2 separate regions of the Homo sapiens genome follow, and region 2 is linked to region 1. The links are contacts of gene promoters, found by promoter capture Hi-C in human tissues and cell types (Jung and others, 2019). All regions are on one chromosome and are shown on one strand. Each heading gives the region's core, a stretch centred on a gene start or on the middle of the fragment in contact. The rest is flanking DNA. Distances are from core to core; before and after follow the strand shown.

Region 1 (5,952 bases), core at 1,382-3,881:
CTATATAGTATTCCATTATATGAATGTCCATGTTAACTAACCAGTCTCCTGTGGATGGAATTTGAATTTTTCTGCTTGTAAGTTTTCAGAGTTTATCTCTTCCTGACCCCCATGGCCAAATTCTTAGAGGGAATAGGTGTCCCTTAACTCCAGATTTGTCCTTCGGTTCATTTATTCTCGGCGTGAATGTGATTCAGCAAGGCTCTCCCAGGAATAAATAGCAGCTAAACCAAAACTGAAAGCTCAGAGGACAAACTAGTAAAAAGAGAAAAACAGAATATATGGAGATGCTTTATGAGGCTGAAAGAGTAAATTAATCCCCACCTTTTTGTGTGTGTGATTGCTCCTTGGCTTGTGGTTTGTATAGTGGCATGTTGGGAATAGTAATCTGATGTAGCCTATTTAGAGCCATTTAAAATAACTATTTTAAGGCTGGGTGTGGTGGCTCACGCCTGTAATCCTAGCACTTCGGGAGGCTGAGGAGGACGGATCACGAGGATCAAGACCATCATGGCTAACATGGTGAAACCCTGTGTTTACTAAAAATACAAAAAAAAATTAGCTTGGGCGTGGTGGCGGGCGCCTGTAGTCCCAGCTACTCGGGAGGCTGAGGCAGGAGAATGGCGTGAACCCAGGAGGCAGAGGTGGCAGTGAGCCAAGATCCTGCCACTGCACTCCAGCCTGGGTGACAGAGTGAGACTCCATCTCAAAAAAAAAAAAAAAAGTGATAATATTGCCTATTTCATAAAATTCTTGTGAGGATTAAATGGGTTCATATATGAAAGTACCCAGTAAATGTTTACTGTCCTCATTATCATCTGGAGCCTTTGCTGTCCTCATTTCAGTGCTTTTATTTAATGAATTAGGTATGTTTTTAAACTTTGATATTACTTAGAAGTGGACCCAAAGACCTCATTGAGTTTTGAGTCTGTTACCTGTGACTAAACTAAAGTGAAGATGTTTCTGGAGTCCCTGATGAAGAGCCTTATTTGTTTTCTTCTTCCCTACAGGTTGTTTTCTGCATGGACCGTGCCCTAGAATTTGCCCCTGCCTGCCATCGCTTCAAAATCCTCAAGGCAGAATGTTTAGCAATGCTGGGTCGTTATCCAGAAGCACAGTCTGTGGCTAGGTATGCAGTCAGGCTAGCTGGACATTAAAATGCCAGATACCATTGGACTGATGGTGTCCGGCAGCTTCACCACAGGATATGGTCCCCAGAGTAGGCCAGCTAGGGCTGATCAGACCCTCTTGGGACTTAAAGTCAAAGATTAGACCAGCTTTGAAAACCCGTAGGGTATACAGGAGTATAGTAGTATAGCAGGTACTTGAGCTATATATGAAAGAACAGATTGTGTTTTTGTGGTTTTGTTTGTTTGTTTAAGGTAGTCCTTTTCCTTCTACTCCACTGGTTGGCACACTTTCTGCAAAGGGCCAGATTTTAGCCTTTGCAGGCCACAGGGTCTCTGTTGCAACTAACTCAACTCTGCCATTGCAGTGCAAAGGTTGCCCTAGATAATAGATGAACCAATGGGTGTGGCTGTTTGAATAGTGTTTTATTTACAAAAACCAGTGGCAGAAAGGATTTGGCCCTGTGGGCTGTAGTTTGCCAAACCCTGTTCTAGTTTAATAAGGATTGTAAGACACAAGATGTGTATTAAAGATAATTATAGGTGGTTTATTTGGGGAAAGTTTGGGAACAGTTCTTGGGAATCTGTCTACCTTTGGATATTTTGAATGCTAGACACATGGTCAAGGAGGAAAACTGGCCACAAATGGTAGTAATGGTGGGGACATTCTAAAGCACAGCTCAATGTGCCCTTTTCTGACTATTGCAGTGACATTCTACGAATGGATTCCACCAATGCAGATGCTCTGTATGTACGAGGTCTTTGCCTTTATTACGAAGATTGTATTGAGAAGGCAGTTCAGTTTTTCGTACAGGCTCTCAGGATGGCTCCTGACCACGAGAAGGCCTGCATTGCCTGCAGAGTAAGTTCTAGTCACCAGACCTAACTGGGAAAGAGCTTCCTTTTGGGACCTTTAAGATGGCTAGAGTGGAAGGTTTTAGAATCACAAGGAATGTGATAGCTTTTCCTCCTGCTTTGCAAGGATGCTTGGTCTTTATTAGAAATGGTTTCAGGACTACTTGTATTTACCTAAAGGTAGATGTGATCATATAGGGTCGGATGCCTTTAATATCTAAGAGGGTTTTTTTGTTTTGTTTTTCCCCTCAGTGAAGATAGATAGTAATACTTGTCCTGAGAAGTGAAGGCAGACCCAGTAACATAGGTCTCATTGGTATTTTTGGTAACTCTTTTCCTGTCCACTCTGTAGGAAGCTCAAATGAGCAACAGATAGCCCAGATTGGGGGTTGGCGGGGCTCTGTGATGCTGAACTGCTGGAAGCAAAGAACTTGAAAATAGAGTCTGGCCTCTCTGTGCAATGGTCTGAGGCTTTGTGGATATGAACCGATCCTCCCCTTGCTTTTTTCTGTAGAATGCCAAAGCACTCAAAGCAAAGAAAGAAGATGGGAATAAAGCATTTAAGGAAGGAAATTACAAACTAGCATATGAACTGTACACAGAAGCCCTGGGGATAGACCCCAACAATATAAAAACAAATGCTAAACTCTACTGTAATCGGGGTACGGTTAATTCCAAGGTAAGCTCTTGATCTAGATCTTGGGGCCTATAGAAATATTTTTAAGGGACATCAAAGGGTCTTGGGAAATCTGCCTAGTGAGGGTAAGCAAGATGAAAGAGGGAAAGTTGTTATGGTTAATAGTTTGTTAGGAACTCCCTTCCAAGAGGCAAGCTTTTGTCATCTCTATGGAATTTGAGGGCAGTTGGACAATTTGCAAGGATATTCTCACCTGTTCATTAAGGTCCCTTTCCTCCAGTAAGAGAATGGCTAGGGTCTGTGGGATAATCTTAAGCACCTACTGTTGCTTTTTTGTTGTTTTGCTTATGCAAGTGATCATTTATTTTTTAGGAGTGATTTGGAGGAAGAGTATGAGGCAAGCTTGTTTTTCTCCAGTGTAATTGATGGTCACCATGCATGGTTGAAAATGGCCTGAGTGCTTTTGTGGCCCTACCCAACATCAGAAACAAAAAGTAGACTCCTTGCCCTTGCAGAATTCTAGCAGTTAAAAATCAGAGTGATTTCTGATCCCTGCAGGTGACCTCTGGAAAAAAGGAGGGCAGGAACCAGCCTTACTATTTTCATGTTTTCATTGGGCACTAACATGGAATGGTAAAGGTAGTTTATCCTTGAAGACAGATGTGCCTGGCTTGTATCATATACAAGAGAAATCAATTTTGAAGTTGCTGTCCATAGCCCTGGTGACAAAGAACTAGAACTTAATATGACATTTAAGGGGCCAGCATGACTGATCCTCTTAGAGTTTTGAAGCCATGCTCACAGCTTCTGGGCTCCCTCAGTCACCAAAGGTGTGAAGTATGATTGCTCTCTCTCTCCTGAAGCTTAGGAAACTAGATGATGCAATAGAAGACTGCACAAATGCAGTGAAGCTTGATGACACTTACATAAAAGCCTACTTGAGAAGAGCTCAGTGGTAAGTGCCTCTGATGGGTAGGGGGAAGAGGGAGTTGCCGCTGGCCTCAGGGGAATTGCCTTGTGGATGACGAAGCAGACCCAGAGATGTTGTGAGGTCATTTGGTCCTTCCCCCTGCCTCTAGGTGGGATTGTTCCAGCCCTAGACTATCTTTATAGACCTCCAGCGGAGGAGATTGCACAAGCTCCCTCAGTCTCCCATGCCTGTGTCTAACGCCCCTCACGGTCAGTAAGTTTCCTCTGATGCCTGACCCAAATTCCTTTTGTTAAAAAGTTTAAATCCATTTCCTTTGGAGATTTTATTTTGTGTTGTACACTTATGCTCTACCCTGGCACAGTGCTTGACACATAGGTGCTCACTGAATAAATGTTTTGTTGAATGAATGTATGGTGCTTGGAAGAGAAAACAACTCTTGGAGACAGTTGAGAGTTGTACTTCATCCTGTTTGTTCTGGGCGAGGGAAGACAATCTTAGAGTTGGAAGAGATGTAATCCGGCTCAGCCTCCCAGGATAAAGGAACTTCCTTTTGAAACACCCTGGATGGCTACTCTCTGCTTGAGTGTTTTGAGTGGAGGGCACTCTGTGTCTGACAGGGTGATTATGAGCCAGGATGTGCCTACCTCTAATGCTCACATTTGCCCCAGAGTCAGGGTGCTCCCTGGCATGGTTGCTCCTCTTACTCTTAGACCCACCAGCTGGTTTTCTCCAGATAGGAACAGGGCTAGGAGAAATCTTTCTCAGAAATCCATCTCTTCTGATTTCAGATTATTCTCTAGGCGGAGAAAAACTTCCCGTCTTTAAAGTTCTTAGAGAAGATGTATTTATTGTATACTAATCCTCCAGCACCTGCTCCACTCCTTATTATAAAATGTCATATCCAAAGAACAGATGCTGTCACTGATGCCTGATGAGCCAGTAGTTTAAGCTTCCTTGTCTCATCAGTGGTACAGAATATCTCATGGACTACCTCCCACTTAGTTTTCTCAAAATTATCTCACTTAAAATAGGAAAACTGCTGCTGTGTGTGATGCTTTTTTTAAAAGTGAATTTCTAAGTTGATGACTAAGTCTGTCCAACAGAAACATACAGGGAATTATAACTTCTGTGAGACTGACTGTCAGTCATTCCATCTTTGCAAACCACTGGCACACAGAAGCAGAAGCTTTGGAAGACAAAAAAAGCACCCTTTGATTCAGCCAAAGACTGACTTTAACAGACGCAAAATGCTATATACATGAAGGTGTTTGCTGCAATTTTATCTATAATAGCAAAAAAAAAAAAAAAAAAAGGCGGGGGGAGAATCACCTACATGTCCAGTGGGAAGGGGGTGGCTAGATACTTGATACTGTATGAACTTAATGGAATGCTCTGTATATGGAATGCCAGGGGATGGGAAGAGAAGAGAAAAATCGCTTTGTTTTATTTTTTGGGATGGAGTCTCGCTATGTCGCTCGGGATGGAGTCTCGCTATGTCGCTCAGGCTGGAGTGCAGTAGCACCGTACTGGCTCACTGCAACCTCCACCTCCTGAGTTCAAGCGAATTTCCTGCTTCAGCCTCCGAAGTAGCTGAGATTACCGGCGCATGTCACCACACCCAGCAAATTTTTGTATTTTTATTGGAGATGGGGTTTCATCATGTTGGCCAGGCTGTTCTCAAACTCCTGATGACAAGTGATCTGCCTGTCTTGGCCTCCCAAAGTTCTGGAATTACCAGCAGGTGTGAGCCACCGCGCCCGGCCTTTTTTTTTTTTTTTTTTTTTTTTTTTTTTTTAAGCAAGCCCCCAACACCATAGAAAATTCTTGATTTGCTCGGAGGATAATTGGATGAAGGATTATTTTCTTCTTTGTTTATGTGCAAGAAATGAAAATAAGGAATTGCTTTGATCAGACAACTTCTTATCTTTGTGGTAGAAACAGAACTGCCCTTCTTGGAGTGGCTCTGCCTCTGAGATCACTACAGGGGAGACAGCATGCCCTGTTCAGCTGGCTGAATATTTGGCAACAATCTCCTGAAGCAGCTGGAATTGACAAGAAGTACTGGAGATTAGCTCGGGCCAAACCCTTACATCTGGCCTGACTACTGCTGCAGTCTGCCTCAACTTACCCCTAAAGCTGGGGAGATGCCACCCACCCACATCTTTGCTACACATGCCATCATGAGCTAGAGTTCACCCTTTCTCCTTAAAGCCCTATTTACTTTTCTACTTCAACTTTAAAACAAAATTAAAATGTGAGGATATCCCTGAATTTTAAAAAGCATGAAGTAAAAATGCAAATTAGTATAGTTTGTTTAATACATTACATATAGACCTAAAGAAAGTTCATCAGGGTTAATCATTTGTCACATCATTCTATACCCAGGGCTATCAGCTATCAAT
Region 2 (5,952 bases), core at 1,982-4,481, 200 kb after region 1:
GACATTAGAACAAGGAGACAGGGGCATTCACCATAAGGGAGGCTGCAGGATCTTCTTTCCTGGACATTTGTCAGAGAATTCTTGCCTTTAAAGGTTTGCAGGCAGGGGACTGGATAAGATGACCTTGCGGCCTTTTCTTCAAGTTCAAGCTACAGGGGAGACTGTGGTCACAGAAACCCCCATCCTATCCCTACATACCTCCTTTCACAAGAGACCAAATTGCCTGTGCAGACAGCTGAGTCTAGGAAACATCATTTCTGATTCTATTCTGTATTCTCAGATACAGATGAATCTCAGTGCCTGCCAGGCACATAGTAGGTGCTTAAAGAGAATCCCTTGATCTGGGAGGAGAGACTCAGCTCTAATCCCAGTCTTTGCCGCTGCTGTGGTGGTGCTTCCACCAGTCCCAGCCTGTGTGTTTAGCTCTGGGGCTGGTGTTATGCAACATGTTCCATGCTAAGACACGCAGGGGGCATTCTGGGGAGACACACACACACACACACACACACACACACACACACGGTTTATTCTGAAACCTTATTTCTGCTCCTCCACCCACATGGGCTCCTCCACCCCTCTCTGCAGTCAACCAGCCCTACCCTGCCTCTTTGCTGAGGTCAGGAGAAATAGGAAGGAGTCAGGCCAGGCTTGGAGCTGGGACGTATGTGTGTGTGCATGTGTGGAGGTGGGAGGTGGGCAGAAGGGGGAAGAAATGAAACCCTGGCAGCTGCAGCAGTCCAGGATTGTGAGCCCATTCCTTCCCCAGCTGTGGCCTGGCTACAGCTCTATGTGACAGGGTGACAAGCAGGTGGATGGGGCAGGGGTAAGGCAGGGATAAAGATAGGGAGGTAAGCTGGAGGATGGAGAGTTGAGGAAACAGGCAAAGGGCGGTGGCCCTGGTTATGGGATGGCCACTAGTTCAGGGATGTCCGTATCTCCCTGGCCCTGCTTTTGGATGGCGCAACTTCAGAAGGGAGAATGTTCAGCTACCATTCTTTTCTCTGGTGGGGAAAGTGGTCAAGGTTGCTGCTAAGGTACCTTCATCCAGCCCATCCTGTGTGCTAGCTTTGGGGCTGTAGAGCTTTGTTGATGGGGGACCCTTTTCTAAACCACCACTCCTCCAAAACCCACCCACACACGCTGCTTCTGCTTATCCTTCTATGAGCTCTTTGAAGGTTGGGATCATTTTTATTTCCTGTGTCACCAGGTTTTATTTTCTGTGTTCACCAGTGCCTAACATACAGTTGACAATGAATACTCAAGTGTTGAATGAAGGAATGTTTGTAGGGCCCTTGGCACACCATACAGCCACGAGCAGCATTCATGTCATCAACCACAGAAAGGAAGTGCCCTTGTCTTCTTAAGCTGCCTGTGAGAAGTCCTTTTTATTTTTTTGAGACAGAGTCTCACTCTGTCACCCAGGCTGGAGTGCAATGGCATGATCTCAGCTCACTGCAACCTCTGCCTCCCGGGTTCACGCCATTCTCCTGCCTCAGCCTCCCGAGTAGCTGGCATTACAGGTGCCCGCTGCCATGCCTGGCTAATTTCTGTATTTTCAGTAGAGATGGGGTTTCACCATGTCGGCCAGGCTGGTCTCGAACTCCTGACCTCAAGTGATCTGCCCACCTTGGCCTCCCAAATTGCTGGGATTACAGGCATGAGCCACCACGCCTGGCCGAGAAGTTCTCTCTGATCTCTACCCCAGGCTCTCCTATCGCAGAGGGGTGTGCTGCCCGGTTTATTTTTTTCTTTTCTTTTTTTTTTTTTTGTTTGAGATGGAGTCTCGCTCTGTCATGCCCAGGCTGGAGTGCAGTGACATGGTCTCGGCTCACTGCAACCTCCGCCTCCCAGGTTCAAGCAATTCTCCTGCCTCAGTCTCCCAGGCAGCTGGGATTATAGTTGCCCGCCACCACGCTCGGCTAACTTTTTGTATTTTTTGTAGAGATGGGGCTTCACCATATTGGCCAGGCTGGTGTTGAACTCCCGACCTCAGGTGATCCACCCGCCTTTGCCTCCCAAAATGCTGAGATTACAGGAGTGAGCCACTGCGCCTGGCCTGCCCCGTTTCTTTCATGCCAGGGCTGGATTTCCTTCAGATCTGCTGCTTGATGTTTCCAAGCCCACCAAAGCCTCCTGACACCAATACTGTATTTTTGTGCCAATTAATTGTTCTGTCTCTCCTCCAAGTGTTTGTGCCTTTTCTCTGCCCCTTCCCCATTGCCTTGACATTTTATGTCTATGCTCCTCTTCCATGAGGGGAACAGCTGGTTTGATGGTCCTTCAAATGAGAGGAAGGAGGTTCTAGCTTGGGGTGTGCCACTTTGTAGTTTTGTGACTTCTCTGAACTTCGGTTTCTTCATCTTTACAATGAGGGTCGTTTTCTCATCCTAACTATTTTTCAGAGCTGTCACAATAATTAAAAAAAAACATACCGTTAATTTAAATTTCTAACCTTTAGCAGTTTCTGAGTGCTTTCACAAACCTGACCTCATTTAATCCCCACATACTCCAGTGAGGTAGATATGGCTAATGTATCCAGTTTACAGAAGAGGAGAAACAGGGTGAAGTAACTTGCCTAAAATCATACCAAGTGGGAGAAGACCAAACCTGGCCTTCTAATTCTAAATCCCAGGAGTACTCCATCTTTCGGGAAAAAAATCCCACCCCAGCACAAAGCCTATGAAATGCTATACAAATATGTGATTACTACTTTGGGGCAAGGATGAATAAGCCCAAAGAAGCATCATGCCTGACGCTGAGTTGGCTGGCCGGTGAAGGCGTCTGTCCCTTCCCTTGGTATCCCTATGACTTACCTGTTGGACAGGTAGGGGGAAGGGGAGAGTAATGAGTCTCACCTGCTCAGAGCAAGGGTGGGGCAAGACACACCCCATCCCTTCCATTGGTTTTTTCCTTAGTCTTACTGACAGAGCCTTGTCCAATCAGGAGGAAGTAACTTTCTATCTGCCAATAGATGCAATGTTAGGATGAGACCTCAAGTTAGAGTCCATCCCTAGAGCCGACTGGCAGTCCCCGGGGCCAATGGCAAGCGGATAAACAGAGGCGGCCGTGGAAGAGGACTGGAGGCGAGGCTCCGCCCCTCCACGGGACAGTCAGGCGAGATAGCCAGTGAGCTCGCACCAGAGGGTGGGCGTCTCCCCCAGGGGCGGAGCTTCGAGGTGGCGAGGGGCGTGGCTTGGCTGTCAGGTCTCTTCGCCTTTTGTTCGGTTACTGAGTTGCTGCCTTGGCCAGAGTCCGGAGCAGCCGCCGCCCGACCACGCCGAGCTCAGTTCGCTGTCCGCGCCGGCTCCCACCCCGGCCCGACCCCGACCCGGCCCGGTCAGGCCCCATACTCAGGTGCGGGCTATCGGGGGCGCAGGTATCGTTGGGGACAGAGGGGTGGCGAGCGGCCGCGGGGCCGGTCCCAGCCGTCCCTGGGCAGGTGAGGGCCGGTGCCATCGAGCGCCACCCTGCACCGGCGGCAGGGGGCGCGCTGGGGTCCTGGGCGCGGCGACTTGGGGGTCGCGCGGTTCGGGCCGAGCGCGCCTCGGAGCTCCGCGAACCAGAGATCTGAGCAAGGCGGGGAGGGATCCGGACAGGTGCCTCCGGGGTCGCGCCTCCCCCGGGGCCCGCGCAGCTCGCCCGACGCCGCGTCCCTGACTCTCGCCCTGGGCTGGCGGGGGAGACTTTGCTCTGCTTCGACTGCGTCCCAGGGCTCACGCTGCAGTCAGGAATTTACCGTTTGGGGAACTTGCTGCCGCTGGTCTCTTTGGGGCCACCCTCACCCCACCCCACGCGTCATCCTCGCTTTCCCTCCCTCCCTACTCCCCCAGGCCTGGGTGGGGCCCTATTGTTTGCGCCCAGCTTGCCCAACTGTGGGGGCCGAGCGCACATTTTCCCAGCGACTCTGGCCCCACCTGCCGAGCAGGTGAGCGCACGGAGTCCAGAGGCCCTGCCCTCCAGCTCCCAGAGCCTCGTCGATACTACCTGCGGCGCCTCCCTCCACGCCGGTGGGAGCCCGGCTCTGGCTTCTTCAGCGGAGGTGGGATGGAGTGACTGGGGGGTGCAGGGCTCGGCTCAGTGTCCAGCTGGTGTCTGGCACCCGTGGCTCGCCCTGGGGTCTGGGGGGTGGGGTCTGTGCACGGATGAAGAATTCAGGGTCACCTGGCCCAGTTTCCAGTAGCTGTGGCTGCCAGAGTGTTGGTAGGGGAACAGGACCCGTCTTCTCTAACCTCTTATTGTTGGAAAAAATCACCCAAAACAAACTTTGCAGGAGGAAGTATTCACAGCAGCTTTATCTGGGGGTTTTCCCGTCTCCTTGCCCAAAACTTCCTTTAGGCTTAGGGGGTCCTTCCTGGTGCAAAACCCCTTCCCCCAGCCGGCCCCTGGCTGAACCTGGGCCGGTGCCTGGGCTCCGACCCTGTCTTCCCTGCCCCCACATTCATCCTGTTCGCTGGGCCCCAGGGGCCTGAGGTAGGGGCCGGGGTGGGGGGTGGAAAGTGCTGAGAGGGGAAGCAGCTTCTTCCTTCTCTTCCTGCCTCCTGGGACCACCACACCCCCTCAGACAAGGCCTGCGTAAGTGGTTGTCTCTCAAGCTCTGCCCCCTCCCCAGGAATGGGGGTGGGGCAGGGCTGGGCCAAACTGAGGAAGGTGGGGGGAGTGGTTGTTCTTGTCTTTTTTTTTTTGCCTCTACCCCATCCCCCACATTACTTAGCTGGCTGGTTATTGAGGCAGAAGCGCATGAGGCTGTGGGACTTGCCTTCCATTTGATTTCTGAATTGTGAAGGTGCATGCTTTCTGGAGGCCTGCACAGACCTTTCCCACCCGCTTTCCTGAAAGAATTTGACAGGGAAAGTGAGACCGCAGGAAGGCTTTTTGGGGGAAGGTTTCTTCAATGCTAGACTCTCTCAGGCAGAGCTGCATCGGGCCCCCTGCCTTCCCTGCTCCCAATTTCCTGAGACCGCCCCCCCCCACCCAGAATTGGGGATCTTGATCAGGGTTTGTACCCCGGTTTAAAAAAAAAATCTGAAATGTGGTCTTTTTGCAGGATTTGGAGCCCAGCCTCGTTGGGGAACAGAGAGAGAATACAACAGTTGGGTTCTCTCTCAGTCCTGGGGGTGGGAGAAAGATTGTGGGGGGCGGGGATCGAGAGTGCTTGGAGGGGAAGAGTCTACCACCTCTTTCTTTGTTGTAGATGGGGGAGTGAGGCTGGGGGCCCAGACTCAGCCCCTTTATCCTGGGTGGGGATCACGCTCAGCCCTGTGCTAGGGGGAAGTCAGTGTGGGAACTCAGATCCTTTTCTGCCGGGGGATGGGATTCTGCACCTCTGGGGAGCAACAGGAGCAGGGAGTTTGGGCAAAAATAACCTGCTTTCCCTCTTCTCTGTGCCAAGGTGGAGGAGGGGAGGGCATTGTAATTATGTTGGCTACATGATTAGTTTAGCTAATCTGGTTTGTGGCTGTGATGAAAAGATAATACTGAGGAAGTACTGCTAGGAGGTGCTTGGTGAAAACTGGCCACTGACTGGACTGGGGGATGCGGGGGAGGAGGAGAAGGTAGGACCCAGTTAGTCATTTCTTGCTAGATCAAGCCCCAGCTTGGGTGACTTGAGCCCTCCCACCCCCACTCCACCCCTCCCTTGCACCCTGGCTCCACCCCATTCCCTCTGGAGCCTCTGTTTGGGCTGCCAGGGCCGAGGCTTTGAGAATGCAGTGCATAGGAACGAAAAAGGTCGGGCTAGGGCTGCCAACCTTTTTCCCATCCTGGAGCCACCTTAGAGTGAGATGGGTCAATTGACTAGTCTACAGAAGGACTGTTTATTTGGAGAGATGGGACAGTGGGGCAGTTCTGAGCACAGGGCTTTGGGCTTGAACTGAGCTGGGTTTGAGACCCAGCTCTGTCTCTCATTACCTGAGCCTCAGTGACCTCTTTGGCAAAATGGGAATACTAATACCT

Evidence for each region. The method cuts DNA at HindIII sites, captures the fragments that hold promoters and counts their contacts. A contact is called where the count stands out against the background at its distance.
Region 2: the fragment with the promoter of JUP here is called in contact with a fragment that was not itself captured in region 1 in 2 of the 25 tissues and cell types used here (adrenal gland and mesenchymal stem cells).

What each region holds. Positions count from the first base shown.
Region 1 is chr17:41,985,441-41,991,392 of GRCh38, reverse strand. It overlaps DNAJC7 (DnaJ heat shock protein family (Hsp40) member C7), which reads left to right. Exons shown (of 14, transcript NM_003315.4): 6 at 1,011-1,129; 7 at 1,836-1,989; 8 at 2,497-2,661; 9 at 3,483-3,574. Among named protein-coding and RNA genes, the nearest start is that of CNP, 22 kb to the right of the region's middle. RefSeq lists enhancers at 2,448-2,948, 2,949-3,449. The HindIII fragment of the contact is 3,975 bases long and covers 644-4,618 here.
Region 2 is chr17:41,783,990-41,789,941 of GRCh38, reverse strand. JUP (junction plakoglobin) reads left to right here and starts at 3,231. Exons shown (of 14, transcript NM_002230.4): 1 at 3,231-3,354. RefSeq lists silencers at 3,263-3,562, 3,727-3,939. The HindIII fragment of the contact is 40,774 bases long and covers 1-5,952 here.